3 separate regions of the Homo sapiens genome follow, and regions 2 and 3 are each linked to region 1. The links are contacts of gene promoters, found by promoter capture Hi-C in human tissues and cell types (Jung and others, 2019). All regions are on one chromosome and are shown on one strand. Each heading gives the region's core, a stretch centred on a gene start or on the middle of the fragment in contact. The rest is flanking DNA. Distances are from core to core; before and after follow the strand shown. Region 1 holds the start of ITGB8 (integrin subunit beta 8). Region 2 overlaps MACC1-OT1 (MACC1 3' UTR overlapping transcript 1). Region 3 overlaps MACC1-OT1 (MACC1 3' UTR overlapping transcript 1).

Region 1 (4,547 bases), core at 1-2,500:
TCTGATAATTAGTCCTTGCTGTCGCTCCAGGGCAGAAATGCTTGACACCTGGCCTCTAGGCCATCTGTGCTGGAGGACGCTGCCCCGCACCCGCCCCCTTGAAGTTCTCTGATGACCGCAACTTACCTGGCCGGGATGCTCTGGCCGGGCAGCTCTTCGTGCCAGCCCAAGACCTTTGGGGAAGAGAAGAAAACAAAACAAAACAAAACAACTTACCACCTTGGCCCAGTCCAAGAACAAGTGAAAACACCCAGGCTGCCCAGAGGAACGAGGCGGGACCTCGCCGGTCGTTTTGCAGGCAGACAAATGCAGCGGTAAAAAAAGCCAGGGCCGAGCCGCACATAATGCAAAACAGCCCGCCCCGCGCCCGCCGCCTGACTGCCTTCCGGACGCGGGCTCGCGCCTCCCGGGCGCACCTCGGGGCCCGCGGGCCGAGTGTCGCTAGGACGTTTTCCGCAGGCCTAGCAGGCGGACCCCGCGGCTCGGAGCAAGCGGTGCAGGTAAGCGGGCCCGGGCACCGCTCGGCATCTCAGGGCCCCTGCGGCCCTCCCGGCTCGGCACGGCGGGTCCCGCGGTCTCCGCGAGAAGCACCTCCTTCGACGGCCAAGGGCCCCGGCGGCGACTGGAGAGAGGGCTCTGCAAGGGCTCCGCAGCCTGCTCCGGGACAAAGAAAAGAGCTTTTGTTTCTCTCCAGCCGGTGGGGCTTCTGCTGCATAAATCAGCTTAGCGAAGAGCCAAACACAATCAAACCCAAACAAAGCCCGAAGCTGGGGGGGAAACCACCCTAATGTACATTCACTGGGTGATGCTGGATCTGTGGGAGGGGACGCCGGCGAGGTCGAGGGGAAAAAAGTCTGTGGCGCATCAATCAGCGCAGTTGCTTCCACAGGTGGGCAGGGAGGCCAACACCATTAGTTGCAGCTTTGCAGCCCCGTCTGCGGAGCAGCGGGCAAAGACAAGTCGGCAGCGTCCTGGCTGGCAAGGGAGGAAGCTCGGGATGCCAGCAACAGGGGGAGGCGGCTCTGGGAGCGCCCTAGAAGCACCCGCCGACACCCGCAGGCACAGAGCGAGGCATCGCCGCTCCCTCCCTGGCGGGGAGTGGGGCCTGCGGCTGCGAGCGCAGGAGGGGAGGTTCCGCGAGGTGCCGGAGCCCGGCTTCGCGGGGCGGGGGCTGCGTGCCCTTGTCCTTTTCGCCTCAGTGCGCGGCTCAGGCGTCCCGCAGTCCAGAGCCCGAGTTGCTGGCGCGCTCTGGGGTGCACACGGCTAGGATGCGAGAGAGGCGAGGCCGGCGATGGGCGGGAGAGGGGTGGTCCTGCTCTGGCCCCCCGGGGGGCTCCAGACCTGCGGGTAGCCGGGTGCACTCAGGGCAGAGAGTTGCTAGGAAACCTCCCCACGCTACCGGAGCGCCTCGCCTCGGCTGCCCGCAGGCGCGGCTGCAGCCCGGGCAGGAGCAGCAGTAACAGCTCGGAGCAGCGTGGGCGGGACATTGGTGAGGCATGAAGTCACCGCGGCCCACACTCGCTCTTTGTTTTGCTCACTCCAGCTCTTTCTTTTCCCCCTTGGCTCTGATAGTTGCCATTCCCATCGTTCACAAGAACTCCTGAAGCGTAGCCGCGCAACAGGAATGGCACGCCTCGTTCCCTTCTCCCTCCTCCCCCGAATCCTTGCACCCCAACGCTCGCGGGGGTGGTGGGAGACTCGCTCAGCGCCAGCGGCAGCTGCGAGCAAACCCCAATCTCTCACCCCCGCGCTGCTCGCCGCTTTGTTCGGAGATACTCACTGCCCCGCAGCTGCTGCATACAAAGTGGAGTCAAGGGACCTCCCCTGCCCCCAACGCCCTCTACTCAGCACTTTGCTTGCAGTTAGGAGCTCGTCCTCTACCCCACCACAAGGCTGCCCCGGTGTCCCTAGCCTTTGGAGAGTTGGACCAGTCTGCAGGGGCTGTTCCCGGAGCGACTGGCCGAGATTTCTCGCTGCTCCTTCTCTGCTCAAAACCTTAACCCTGGACTGGACAGCCCTGTTTTTCCCCAGCGTCTGGTGGTGGCTCTGGGCTTTTGCAAGTTACAGTGGGTCTTTTGATCTTAAGCGTCACCTTCCCAGTAAACGGAACAAAAAGTTACAGACAGCAGCAAAGCGGGGAGAGGGGAGCTAAGGAGAGAAAGTGGAAGGCACTTCTGCCTGCTTGCAGCTCAGAAATTTAGGTGCAAGTAGGGTGCGGGTGTTATGCTGGGCAACTGCCCGGAAGCAGCGCGCCTCCTCGGGTCCTGTCATTACCACGCTAAGTCGAGGGAGGGAACTCAGTCCCCCGCATTGGAAACAAGGCAGTGTTTCCAGTTTAACACGGTGATGGTTCTCTTTTCCCTCTAGGGGCAGGAGCGATTCCCATTCGAGGAGTTTGACCTCTCATTTTAATACAACACCCGCCTCTTAGAGGCAGCAGACCAGTCCAGCCAGGTCAAGGTGAAATATGCGGGAGTTTCCCCCCTTCTTATTTAATAGTTTCCGTCTCCTTATTTGTAGTTAAAAAAAAAAAAAAAAAAAAAGTAGGAGGCGCGGTCTCTCTCTTTCTTTCTGTTGACTGAGTGAATGGAAAGTACCTGGTTAATAAACCACAACATCGAAACTCCCCCTTTCAGGTGTGGACCGCACAACGGGGTGCACAGGATTAGTTAAGCAAAGCAGGAACCCAGCTGGAAAATTAAACGAGCCCTGGATCTGCAAAGCAGGTCCCTTCGCGAGACCAAAGCCGTGATCCCAACCTTAGCAACATAATTCTACTGGAGGTGATGTACTCTAAATAAATAGAAATAAATCCAGCTCCGCTTTAATATTTATTTCCTTTCCTTAGTTCCAAGTTTGAACAGTTATAGTTTTGTTTTTTGGTTGTCTTAAAGGAAAGGCCTAAAAATTAGTTAGGATGGGTGTGAGGACTTGAAAATTTGAACACAAAAATATCATATTCAATATCTGATTAGTGACTCTTCCATTGGGCAGCCTGGGTATTTTCCAGGGGTTATGTCACAGACCTACTGAATGCAGCCACCCTTGAGACATGCAGTGCTTCAATCAAAAAAAAAAAAAATTAAATCCCTAATTCCCATAAGGACATGTCAATACACTTTAAAGTGTCTATCATATCACCATTCCATAATATTCTAAAATACAACTCTTTGTTGCTGGGTTGTAAGTGGCAGTTACAGTAATAAATAAAATATAAATGTATGCAAACAAGAAAGGATGTAACTTTATGAAATTGATGAGGTATGCACTAATTTTTGTAACTCTGTTTTTAGGTGTTGATATATATACTAATCCAGAACAACCATGTAGCAAGAGGAATAAAATGAAGTTCAGAAGTCTGTTTCGGGAAATTTTGAAGCCCTTTAGAAAGAAAGATTTCTACATTTTGTTACATGAAATTCATGCAAATATATGTCAGGTGCCAGTGCTATGGAGTTGTTGAAGAATAAGCACAATACCATTTATTACCACTTCTCAGTTGTAAAGAGGCTGTAACTCTGGTTGTCGAAATAAAATAAAATGAAATCTCCTAGATGTGACACTGTGACCCCTGCCAGTTATTTACAAACAAGTTATCTGCACATTTTGGGCTGTAAACATAAAAGTAAACTCTCTGAAAGACTGCAAATCATCTTTAGGGTTTTCTTAAAGTAAATACAACTAGTGGCCCAGGAACCAAAAGTTTGCTTGTTTCCAGTTAATGTCACTGGTCACCATAACTCACCCTTTTTCCTATGAGGAAATGTACAGCATATTTTAAAGAAATGCAGTATTGTTATCTTCGTCATATTACCTGAAGAATTCTAATAAAGGAAAAATGTTTCGGAAGATGGTGACTTGATTAATTTGTTTTTCCATCATGTTCTGCTATATTGCTTTGAAATTTCTGACAGCTAATTTTTCATCATTTGTGGTAATGAGAGGAAATGAAATTCACAGATAGTCTAAAAATAACATTTTAGTTATTCATTCCAGGCTTCCTATCATTAGAGTCTTTGAGCTGAGTTACTAAAAAGTCATAAAATTAAATTACTTAAATTTCTTCCCTACTCCTTTAACCTTGATTTCTCACTAAGTGAGTTTATGGTGAGAATGAATAAGCTATAGATAGGTAGCAGGAGTGAGGGAGACACTCAGACTGTTTTTTAAGAAATGGAATCTTGCTATCTCACTATGTTGCCCAAACTGGCCTTGAACTCCTGGTTCAAGTTTGAACTCAAGCTATCCTCCCACCTCAGCCTTCTGTGTAGCTGGGATTATAGGTGTAAGACACCACATACAGCTGTGGCTATTCACACTTTAACTAGATGTGCCCAAATTATTGATCTCATAGTGGCACCTACAGACACATTTGAATTTTAATGTTACATCTTTTTGAAGTTGGGATCAGAGCCATTCAGTACGTTTTGGGTGGGTATTCACAAGTTATCTATAAGCTTGCCTGAGACATCTCAGAAGATGATTAATGGTCAGACCAGTGAGATATATTATTGTGACTATGACCTCTAGCTTCTTCTAATGATAAA
Region 2 (4,500 bases), core at 1,042-3,541, 340 kb after region 1:
GCAGATCCCCACAATTTTTTGAGTCTTACCTCCGGGAACCTTACCAGGTTCTCATAGTGAATATCTGAGAAAAATCTCCTAGGGCTTCCAATGAAGGAGGGAAAAAATAAACATTTCGAATTCACAATAGCATTCTGTCCTTTAAAAAGGCCTGCATTCAAGAGAAACTATTTTACCAGAGCCTAACCTGCTGTTTCCTTGTTTTGTTTTGTTTTGTTGTTTTGTTTGTTTTTCAGAGTCTAACTTACCTGGGGAAGGGAAATACCCAACTCCAGTACCCTCTAGCCATTCTGTCTCACTTAAGGGAAAAAAAATACTGAGAATCACTGGCGAAGTTCACAGTCCCAGAGCACAGGTGTACCCAAACCCTCACACAGATTTATAAACTATAAGAATGCTTTATCTTCCCCCACAAAAACAAAAGCACAACGTACCAAAAGTAATGAAATGAAGCAAAAGCAGTACCAAGAGGGCAGTTGACAGTAATGAATGACTATATTATAAAGAGGAAGGATATTAATTAACAATTTAACTTCATACCTCAAGGAACACTCAAATGCATTTTATCAGGCCAGCATTACCTTTATACCAATGCCAGACAAAGGCATCACAAAAAAGAAAACAAAGGCATCACAAAAAAGAAAACAAAGCCAAGATCCTTGGTAAATTTGAATACAAAATTCCTCAATAAAATACTAGCAAACTGAGTCCAACATAACATTAAGAGAATCATACTAACATTAAGAGAATCATACACTATGATTATTGGGATTTATACCTGATACATAAGGATGGTTCAACTTTTTAAAATTAATGTATGTTATTATACAATATCAATATAGCACATTACATAATAAAAAATAAAAATTACAGGATCATAAATGCAGAAAAGGCACTTATCAAAATTAATTATGCTTTCATGATAGAAATTCTCAACACATTACGAAAAGTAAGAAATTACCTCAACATAATAAAGGTCAAATATGATAAGCCCACAGCTAACATCATACTTGACAGTGAAAAATTTAAAGTTTTTCCTCCAATATCAAGAACAAGACAAGGATGCCCACTTTTACCGTTTCTATTAAACATACTACTGGAAGTCCTAGCCAGAGCAAGTAGGCAAGAAAAAGAAGTAAAAGTCATTCAAATAAGAAAGAAAAAGTAAAATGTTCCCTGGTGTAGATGGTATAATCTGTTAACTTTTAGAAACTGTTAGAAAAATTGAATGAATTCAGTAGAGTTGTAGGATACAAAATCAACTTACAAAAATCAGTTGCACTTCTATATACTAACAATGAACTATCTGAAGAGGGAACTATGAAAATCCCATTTAAAACAGCACAAAAAGAATAAACTAGGAATAAACTTCAGTAAGGAGGTCAAAGACTTATATACTGAAACCTACAAAACATTGATAAAAGAAATTAAACCAGAAGAAAACAAATATGAAGACTTTCCATCTTCATGGATTGAACAACATGATATTGTTAAAATGTCCACACTACCCAAAGTAATCTCTACCAAATCCCAATGGTATTTTTTTACAGATATAGAAACAATTCTAAAATTCACATGCAACCACAAAAGTCTCTGAATAGCTAAATAAATCTTGAGCAAACAGAATAAAACCATAGACACCATATTTTCTGATTTTAAAATACATTACAAATTACAGTAATCTAAACAGAATGCACTGACATAAAGATGGACATAAAAACCAATGGAAAAGCATACAGAGCCTAGAAACAAATCTACATATTTACAGTCAACTGACTTTCCAGAAAGGTGCCAAAATACACAATGAAAAACAGAATGTCTCTTCAATAAATGGTACTGAGAAAACTGGAATCCACATGCAAAAGAATGAAACTGGACCCTTATATCACACCGTACACAAAACTTTATTCTAAACAGATTAAAGACCTAAATGTAAGATCCCAAACATTAAAATTCGTAGAAGTGAGAGTGGGCTAAGGACTCAAATAGACGTTTCTCCAAAAAGACACGTAAATGCCCAAGAGGTAGATGAAAAAGTACTCAATGTTTCTGATCTTAATGTAAATGCAAATCAAAACCATGATAAGGTGTTATATCAAACCTACCAGGATGACTATTACTTAAAAAAAGTAGAAGAAGAAACAATACTAGGGAAAGAAATTGGTACCCTTGCATGGTACTGCTGAGGGGAATGCAAAATGGCGCAGCTGCTATAAATAGTAAGAAGGTTCCTCAAAAATTTAAAAATAGCACTGCCATATGATCCAGAAATCCCATTCCGGATCTGAAATCATGATCTTGTGGATATATTAACACTTCTGTGTTCATTGTTGCACTATTCATTACAGCTAAGAAATAAAAATAGTCTAAATGCCATCAGCAGATGAATGGATACAGAAAATGTGATATATACATACAATGGAATACTACTCAGCCTTTTAAAATAAAGAAATTCTGCAATATGCAACAACATGGATGCAACCTAAAGACATTATATTAAATAAAATAAGCCAGTAACAAAAAGACAATGCATGATTTATGTAACGTAACTAACATAGTTACATTCATTGAATCAAAGTGTGGAATGGTGGTAACCAGGGGCTGGAGGATGGAGAAATGGAGTTGGAAATCAACAGATATAAACTTTCACTCAAGCAACATAAACAAGCCTAGAGATCTATTCTACAATATTGTACCTACAGTCAAAAATTATGTAGTGTACACTTAAAAATTGTTAACAGATCTCATGTTAAGTGTTATTTCACAATTTTAAAAAGTGAAGGAGAAATAAAACCTTTCTCAGACAAATAAATATTGAATAAATTTGTTGCCAGTAGACTTGTCTTGCAAGAATTGTTAAAAGAAGTTATTTATTTGAAAAGAAGAAAAATGATATAGGTCAGAAACACATATCTACGTAAAAAAGGAAGAGCATTAGAGAAGGAATAAATGAAGGTAAACAAAAGCTTTTATTTTTCTTATTCTTAGTTGGTCTAATAGATAACATTTTGTTCATAAAGTAATAGCAACAATGTATTTCATTATGTATGCTTACACATATATCTTTGTGTGTGTGTGTGTGTGTGTGTGTGTCTGCATTAGTTCGTTCTTGTACTGTTACAAATAAATACCTGAAACTGGGTAATTTATAAAGGAAAGAGGTTTAATTGGCTTATGGTTCTACAGGCTGTACAGGCTTCTGCTTCTGAGGAGGCCTCGGGAAACTTACAAGAATGATGGATGGTGAAGGGGAAGCTGGAACGTCTTACCTGGCAAGAGCAGGAGGAAGAGGGAGAAGGGGGAGGTGCTATACACTTTTAAACAACCAGATCTCATGAGAACTCACTCACTATCATGAGAAAAGCAAGGAGAAATCGGCCCCTCTGAGCCAATCACCACCCACCAGGTCCTTCCTTCAACATTGGGGATTACAATTCCTCATGAGATTTGTGTGGGGACACAAATTCAAACCATATCAGTATCTAAGAACAGTATATATGCTTAGATGTAAATGACAGCTATGATACAAGAAATGGGAGGAAGGCATTTTAATTATTTTTTTAAAATATAAGGTATTCATACTACCTGTGAAGCAATAGCATGCTCTTTGAAAGTGGGTTTGCATTAGCTGTAAGGGTATATTGCAAACATTAGAGAAATTACTTCCATATAGCAAAAGTAAATGGATTGAGAAAGATATTTCTAGTTTTCCACCTTAGGAAACTTGAAAGAGTAAATAAAATCAAAAGTAAGCAGAAGAAAAGAAATAATAAAAATTAGAGCAGAAATCAATGAAATTAAAAACAAGAAATCAATAGAGAAAACCAAAAGATGGTTTTTTGAAAAGATGAAAAAATTGAAAAGCTAAGAATAGAGATGATACTAATTACTAATATCAGAACTAAAAGTACTGGGAAAACTTAGATAAAATAGGCCAATTCCTTAAAAGACACAATTTCTCAACAAATACATAGTTATTTCTTGTTACAAAGGAAAACATTCTTACAAAAGAAATGTAAGGGATAGACATAAATCTATTAAAAATCAAATCAGGGGAGGTGGAAGAAGATGGCAGACTAGAAGTTTCCACTGATTGTTCCCCTCTCAAGGATGCCAATTTAACAATTATCTACAACGAAAAGACACCATCAAGAACTAAAAATCAGGTGAGCACTCACAGTACCTGGTTTTTACCTTCATGTTGCTGAGAGAGGCACTGAAGAGACAGAAAAAGCAGTCCTGAATCGCCAACGCCACTCCTCCTCCATGGCTGGCAGTGGTGGTCTGGGCCTCAGGAGAGCATCTCTGGGTGCTGGAGGAGGGAGAACATAGCAATTGTGAGGCAATGACTCAGTGCTATCCTATTACAGCAGAAAGGAAAACCTGGCCAAACTCAGCTGACACCTGCCCATGGAGGGAGCATTTAAATCAGCTCTACCCAGAGGGTAATCACCTCTCCCAGCAGTCTGAACTTGAGTTCCTGCAAACCTCCCACTGAGG
Region 3 (4,915 bases), core at 2,021-4,520, 400 kb after region 1:
TAAAGGAGACCAATAACTTATGGTTCTGTTCCTGATGTACATCAAAGTTAGATTAGACTGTCTATCGTGAGTGAATATAAGAAAAGCTCATTTGATTGATTGAAATTTTAGCCACCAGGAAGTCCTCAAGGACTCCCTTTCCCTGCAATTGTTTTACTAATGACACTTTTGTACACAGTAGTGATATGATTTCATTTTGGTTATATTTACTAAGATTATCCCACCTTTGACTTTTTTAATTGCATATATTATATTGGAAATTGGTTTAGTGAGTGAGTAATAGCTGTTGTGGACTGTAGATCCCTTCACTCAAACAAGATTTGTGTTTCTATCCATGTCCTAAGGATGCCATTTCACTACTCCTAGGAGACAGCGACAGCTTTTGTGTGCTATAATGCAATCTTTAGGGCGTGAATATTTCTATAATAACTGAACATTGAACACCATAAGTATTTGCATAGTCACTCTTCTTAGGGAATAAATAAAAAAAATACTCTGGAATCCCTTTTACCTCTTCCTGTATTTTTTTTTGTTTTGTTTTGAGAGGGATTCTTGCTCTATCGCTAGGCTGGAGTGCAGTGGCACCATCTCAGCTCACTGCAACCTCCGCCTCCTGAGTTCAAGTGATTCTCCTGCCTCAGCCTCCTGAGTAGCTGGGATTACAGGCGCATGCCACCACACCTGGCAAATTTTTGTATTTTTAGTAGAGATGAGGTTTCACCATGTTGGTCAGGCTGATCAAGAACTCCTAACCTCGTGATCCACCCGCCTCAGCCTTCCCAAGTGCTGGGATTACAGGCATGAGCCACTGAGCCCAGCCCACCTCTTCCTGTATTTTTAAGTATTGATATGGTTTGGCTGTGTCCCCACCCAAATCTCATATTGGATTGTAGTTCCCATAATCCCCACATATCATGAGAGGGACCGAGTGGGAGGTAATTGAATTATAGGGGCGGGCTTTTCCCGTGCTCTTCTTGTGATAGGGAATAAGTCTCACAAGATCTGATGGTTTTATAAAGGGCACTTCCCACACACAAACTCTCTTGCCTGCTGCCATGTAAAATGTGTCCTTGCTCTTCCTTCACCTTCCACCATGAGTGTGAGGCCTCCCTAGCCATGTGGAGCTATAAGTCCATTAAACCTCTTTTTCTTTATAAATTACCCAGTTTTGGGTATGTCTTTATTTGCAGTGTGAGAACAGACTTATTCAATTATTATAGGCACTAAGGGGTTCATTGCCAATCAAATCATTCTCCAGTAAAGTAATCTACAATATTTCCATATGAGATTTTATTGTTGTATCTTGATGCTTAACTTGAAGTAAATCAGGACTGTGTGTTGCCCACATTGGTCCTTAGTCACATATTGGGATCTGTTTTTTCTAACAGTGAAGACATTAATTAATCCTACATGAGAGTATGTTTATGTATGAAATTAATCAAGACCATATTTTGTGGATTTAGGACGTTTCTAGCAAATGTATACACTTAAAGACTGTCTTGTAAGGTCAACAGCTGAGAGGATATAGAAGGAACATGCTGAGAAGTTCAGGAAGTACTAACATAAAGCTCCCTCTTCCCACAGGAACATCGATTTCAGCATACCTTAAACCTTTTGAACAGACTTGTCGATACTCTCTTGGAAAAGTATTTTTAAAAATAGAATTGAATATTTTTAAACTTTCATCCCAATAGAAAGCTAAAGTTAATGAGGAAACTTGGATTCATTTCACAAAACGTTGCTTGTAAGCTATTTTGCTTGGCTACATGTTCCCTGGACAAACCCAAAAGACTGGTATAAATTCCAATACTGTCACTCACAGTATCACAAACTTTTGGTGACTCAATCGCTTTACCTTTATGTTGTTCTTTCTAGGACCAGTTTCACAGAGGTTATGCCATTCTCAGATTTCTTAGAATTGGTCAATCTTAGGTCATTTGACTTGAGAAATCCTCAAAGATTTTACTGTTTTAAAGTATTAATACATCCATCACCACAAAGGAATCAGTTAATGTGCTGTTATATCTCAAAGAGGTTACAGTACCATCTTCATTTTTCTCAACAGCCTCCTCTAAATTCTATTCTTTCTCTTTGCCTTAAAAATCTACACAATGAAAGAGAGCACAAGGAAAGTCTCCCGGGAAATACAGGGAGAAAAAAATTAATCAAAATGTCCAACAACAGATTATCCAATAATTTATGATATATCAGGACATAGAATACTATACAACCAAGAAAAATACTAATGTACTTATAGATCTATTTATATTAAAAAAGTTAATGATATATATTTTGTGTATTCCATATTACAAGCACTAGGCTAAGTCCCAGATATATCATGGTGAGCAGGAGAGACTGGAGCCCTGACTTTCTGAAGTTTTGAATCCAGTGGGAGATACTAACAATAGATAAGTGAAGAACTACAACCATAAAAATTATTATTAAAAAAAACCACGTGCTGGAATTTCTGAAAAAAATAAGCATGCCTATATTCAAATATGTAATGTAAAAAATAAAGGTATGCACAAAAAAGTCCATAAAGGTACAAACAAAATATGGGCAGTAGTTTCCAGTGGCTGCTGGCAGAACAGGCATCAGGAAGTATGCATGAATGTAGTCATGCAGAAGTTATCTAAAATCCCTGCTGACTGATCAGTACCCATGCCACACTGGTTATTATTAATACATACTTGGGATATCACCACTGGGTGTTAGTATTCTGGCCAATCCTTACTTCCATTATGTTTTCTAGATTATCTAATTTTTAAACACAATGCTTTATTATTTCATATTTAATTATAAAACATTTTAAACATACACACAGTAGAGAAAACATTCACTTTTTTTTTTCTTTTTTTTTTTTTTTTGAGATGGAATCTCTCTCTGTCACCCAGGTTGGAGTGCAATGGTGCGATCTTGGCTCACTGCAAGCTCCGCCTTCCGGGCTCCCGCCATTCTCCTGCCTCAGCCTCCCGAGCAGCTGGGACTACAGGCGCCCACCACGACGCCTGGCTAACTTTTTGTATTTTTAGTAGAGACGCGGTTTCACCGTGTTAGCCAGGATCGTCTCGATCTCCTGACCTCGTGATCCACCCGCCTTGGCCTCCCAAAGCGCTGGGATTACAGGCGTGAGCCACCGCGCCCAGCCAGAAAATATTCACTTCTTTATTCGACATATAAGTTTAACAACAGTTAAGGAATTGACATTTTTGTTTTAGGATTTTTTTTAATGAAATTATCATAGATAGAGCTAAATTCTTAAAACTTAATCCTTTTTTTTTCTTTTCCTCTCCTTCCCATGTGTAATCACTTCTCTAAAAATATGCTGATTTTATGTTCTAATAAAAAGGGCTTTAAAAATCAATATATAGTACAGATATAAAAGTCTGAACCACCAAAAAAGTAAAGAAAAAGAAAAGCAAGGAAAAAAAAAGAAAGAAAAAGAAAAAATGAGGCAAAAACCGTGGAGTGATGAGTAATTGTTAGGAGAATGAAAGAGAAAGCTTAACTTTACAAAAGTCCCTGCTGAATGAAATGGTCAAAGTAATTGTAAGAAATCACAAAAAGCATGTTGAAAAGCTCAGAATAGCCTTAAACTGCAAAACTTCCTGCAGCTTGAGAGAACCTTCCTGCTGAATTACTAAATTTTAGAAATATAAAAATAAACTAACCACTGAAACATCCAACTGTTGTAAGAAAGTTCTAGATTCAAAAATAAACAGAAGCAAAAGCATCGTTTAAGAAAGTCCTTTGAAGAAATCCCACACTCATAATTTAAATGAATGCTCAAATAAATGTTGTTATTAACTTTTTTGAGTGTCATCAATGAATCAATCACTATGCTAGTACTCGTTTTAGAAGATGAGTAGAAAATAATCTTTTCTTCAAGGAGTTCACAATCCAGTTAATAAAACTTATTAGATGACATGGCGTCTTTCTTTTCTCATATGTTCCCACTACTCAGAGAAGAGTTGCATATAATAGGCATGAGGGGTATTATTAAATGTTTAATAATTAGCTCTCTAAGGAAAACAAAAACCCGATTTGCAGCATTTTCCAATTTCCACGGCATTAATACTACCCCCATGGTTGATTTCAGGATGACATTATATTATGAAACATTGTATTTCTTTTTGGAAAGAAATACACACCAGAACACTAGATTCACCAGAGCTAGCTAGCTCAAGCATTGAACAAATATTTGTTCCATGAAGACAAACAGTATAATAATTTTTATAAAAGAGGTTGCTTTAACATATGACAGAAGCACAAAAAAAATGATCAGATCTGTTGGAAGGGAGGGCTTAGGTATTTCAAAGTCTTTTCTGAGGTGATCTCTGAATTTTTTTTTCCACTACAGCTATGTTTCATTTATAAGTTTCACTAGAGTCACTGTTCTCAAAGAGGGTACAAGATGACTCAGTAGTGGTAGTAGGAGGTTTGTATTACTGTTTCCAGTATTTTTAAAACAGCAATGCTACTAAACAATCTACAGTGAACAGGACATCTCCCCACACCCCTCCAGCAAAAACAACTGTGCAAATTGTCAAATGTATCAACAGTGCTGAGATTAAGAACCCCTGCACTGGAATAACAGAGAAGAATCTAGATGAAGGGAACAGCTGGTGCAAAGGCAATGAATAATGAAAGAAAAGTGTATTTTTACCTGGGATACTATGGAAACAAGCTGAGACTCAAAAACAGTGTTTTCACAAAGCTTTTAAAGAAGAGTTTTCCTATATTAGAATAACTCTATGCTTTCCTAATTTCATCTTTTATAACAATAACATCTTTTCATAACAATACACTTTCACTTCTTGTCTTTTGGTGTTTTCCTTTGTGAATCATATTTGCTTTCTCACATCCCATATTGTTTCAAAAATGAAGTTGCATCCTTAACTTTTTCCAACCATTA

What was found. The method cuts DNA at HindIII sites, captures the fragments that hold promoters and counts their contacts. A contact is called where the count stands out against the background at its distance.
Region 2: a contact is called between a fragment that was not itself captured here and the fragment with the promoter of ITGB8 in region 1, in 1 of the 25 tissues and cell types used here (lymphoblastoid cells).
Region 3: a contact is called between a fragment that was not itself captured here and the fragment with the promoter of ITGB8 in region 1, in 1 of the 25 tissues and cell types used here (lymphoblastoid cells).

The regions. Positions count from the first base shown.
Region 1 is chr7:20,327,603-20,332,149 of GRCh38, reverse strand. It overlaps ITGB8 (integrin subunit beta 8), which reads right to left and starts at 1,250. Exons shown (of 14, transcript NM_002214.3): 1 at 217-1,250. The coding sequence starts at 343. ITGB8-AS1 (ITGB8 antisense RNA 1) reads left to right here and starts at 388. Exons shown (of 3, transcript NR_110120.1): 1 at 388-500; 2 at 2,637-2,783; 3 at 3,294-3,849. RefSeq lists silencers at 290-529, 1,000-1,389 and enhancers at 1,470-1,759, 1,860-1,929, 2,017-2,629. The HindIII fragment of the contact is 8,908 bases long and covers 1-4,547 here.
Region 2 is chr7:19,984,455-19,988,954 of GRCh38, reverse strand. The region is part of intron 3 of MACC1-OT1 (MACC1 3' UTR overlapping transcript 1); the gene reads left to right. Among named protein-coding and RNA genes, the nearest start is that of MACC1-OT1, 150 kb to the left of the region's middle. The HindIII fragment of the contact is 4,389 bases long and covers 97-4,485 here.
Region 3 is chr7:19,927,968-19,932,882 of GRCh38, reverse strand. All of the region lies in intron 5 of MACC1-OT1 (MACC1 3' UTR overlapping transcript 1), which reads left to right. Among named protein-coding and RNA genes, the nearest start is that of TMEM196, 160 kb to the right of the region's middle. The HindIII fragment of the contact is 5,349 bases long and covers 596-4,915 here.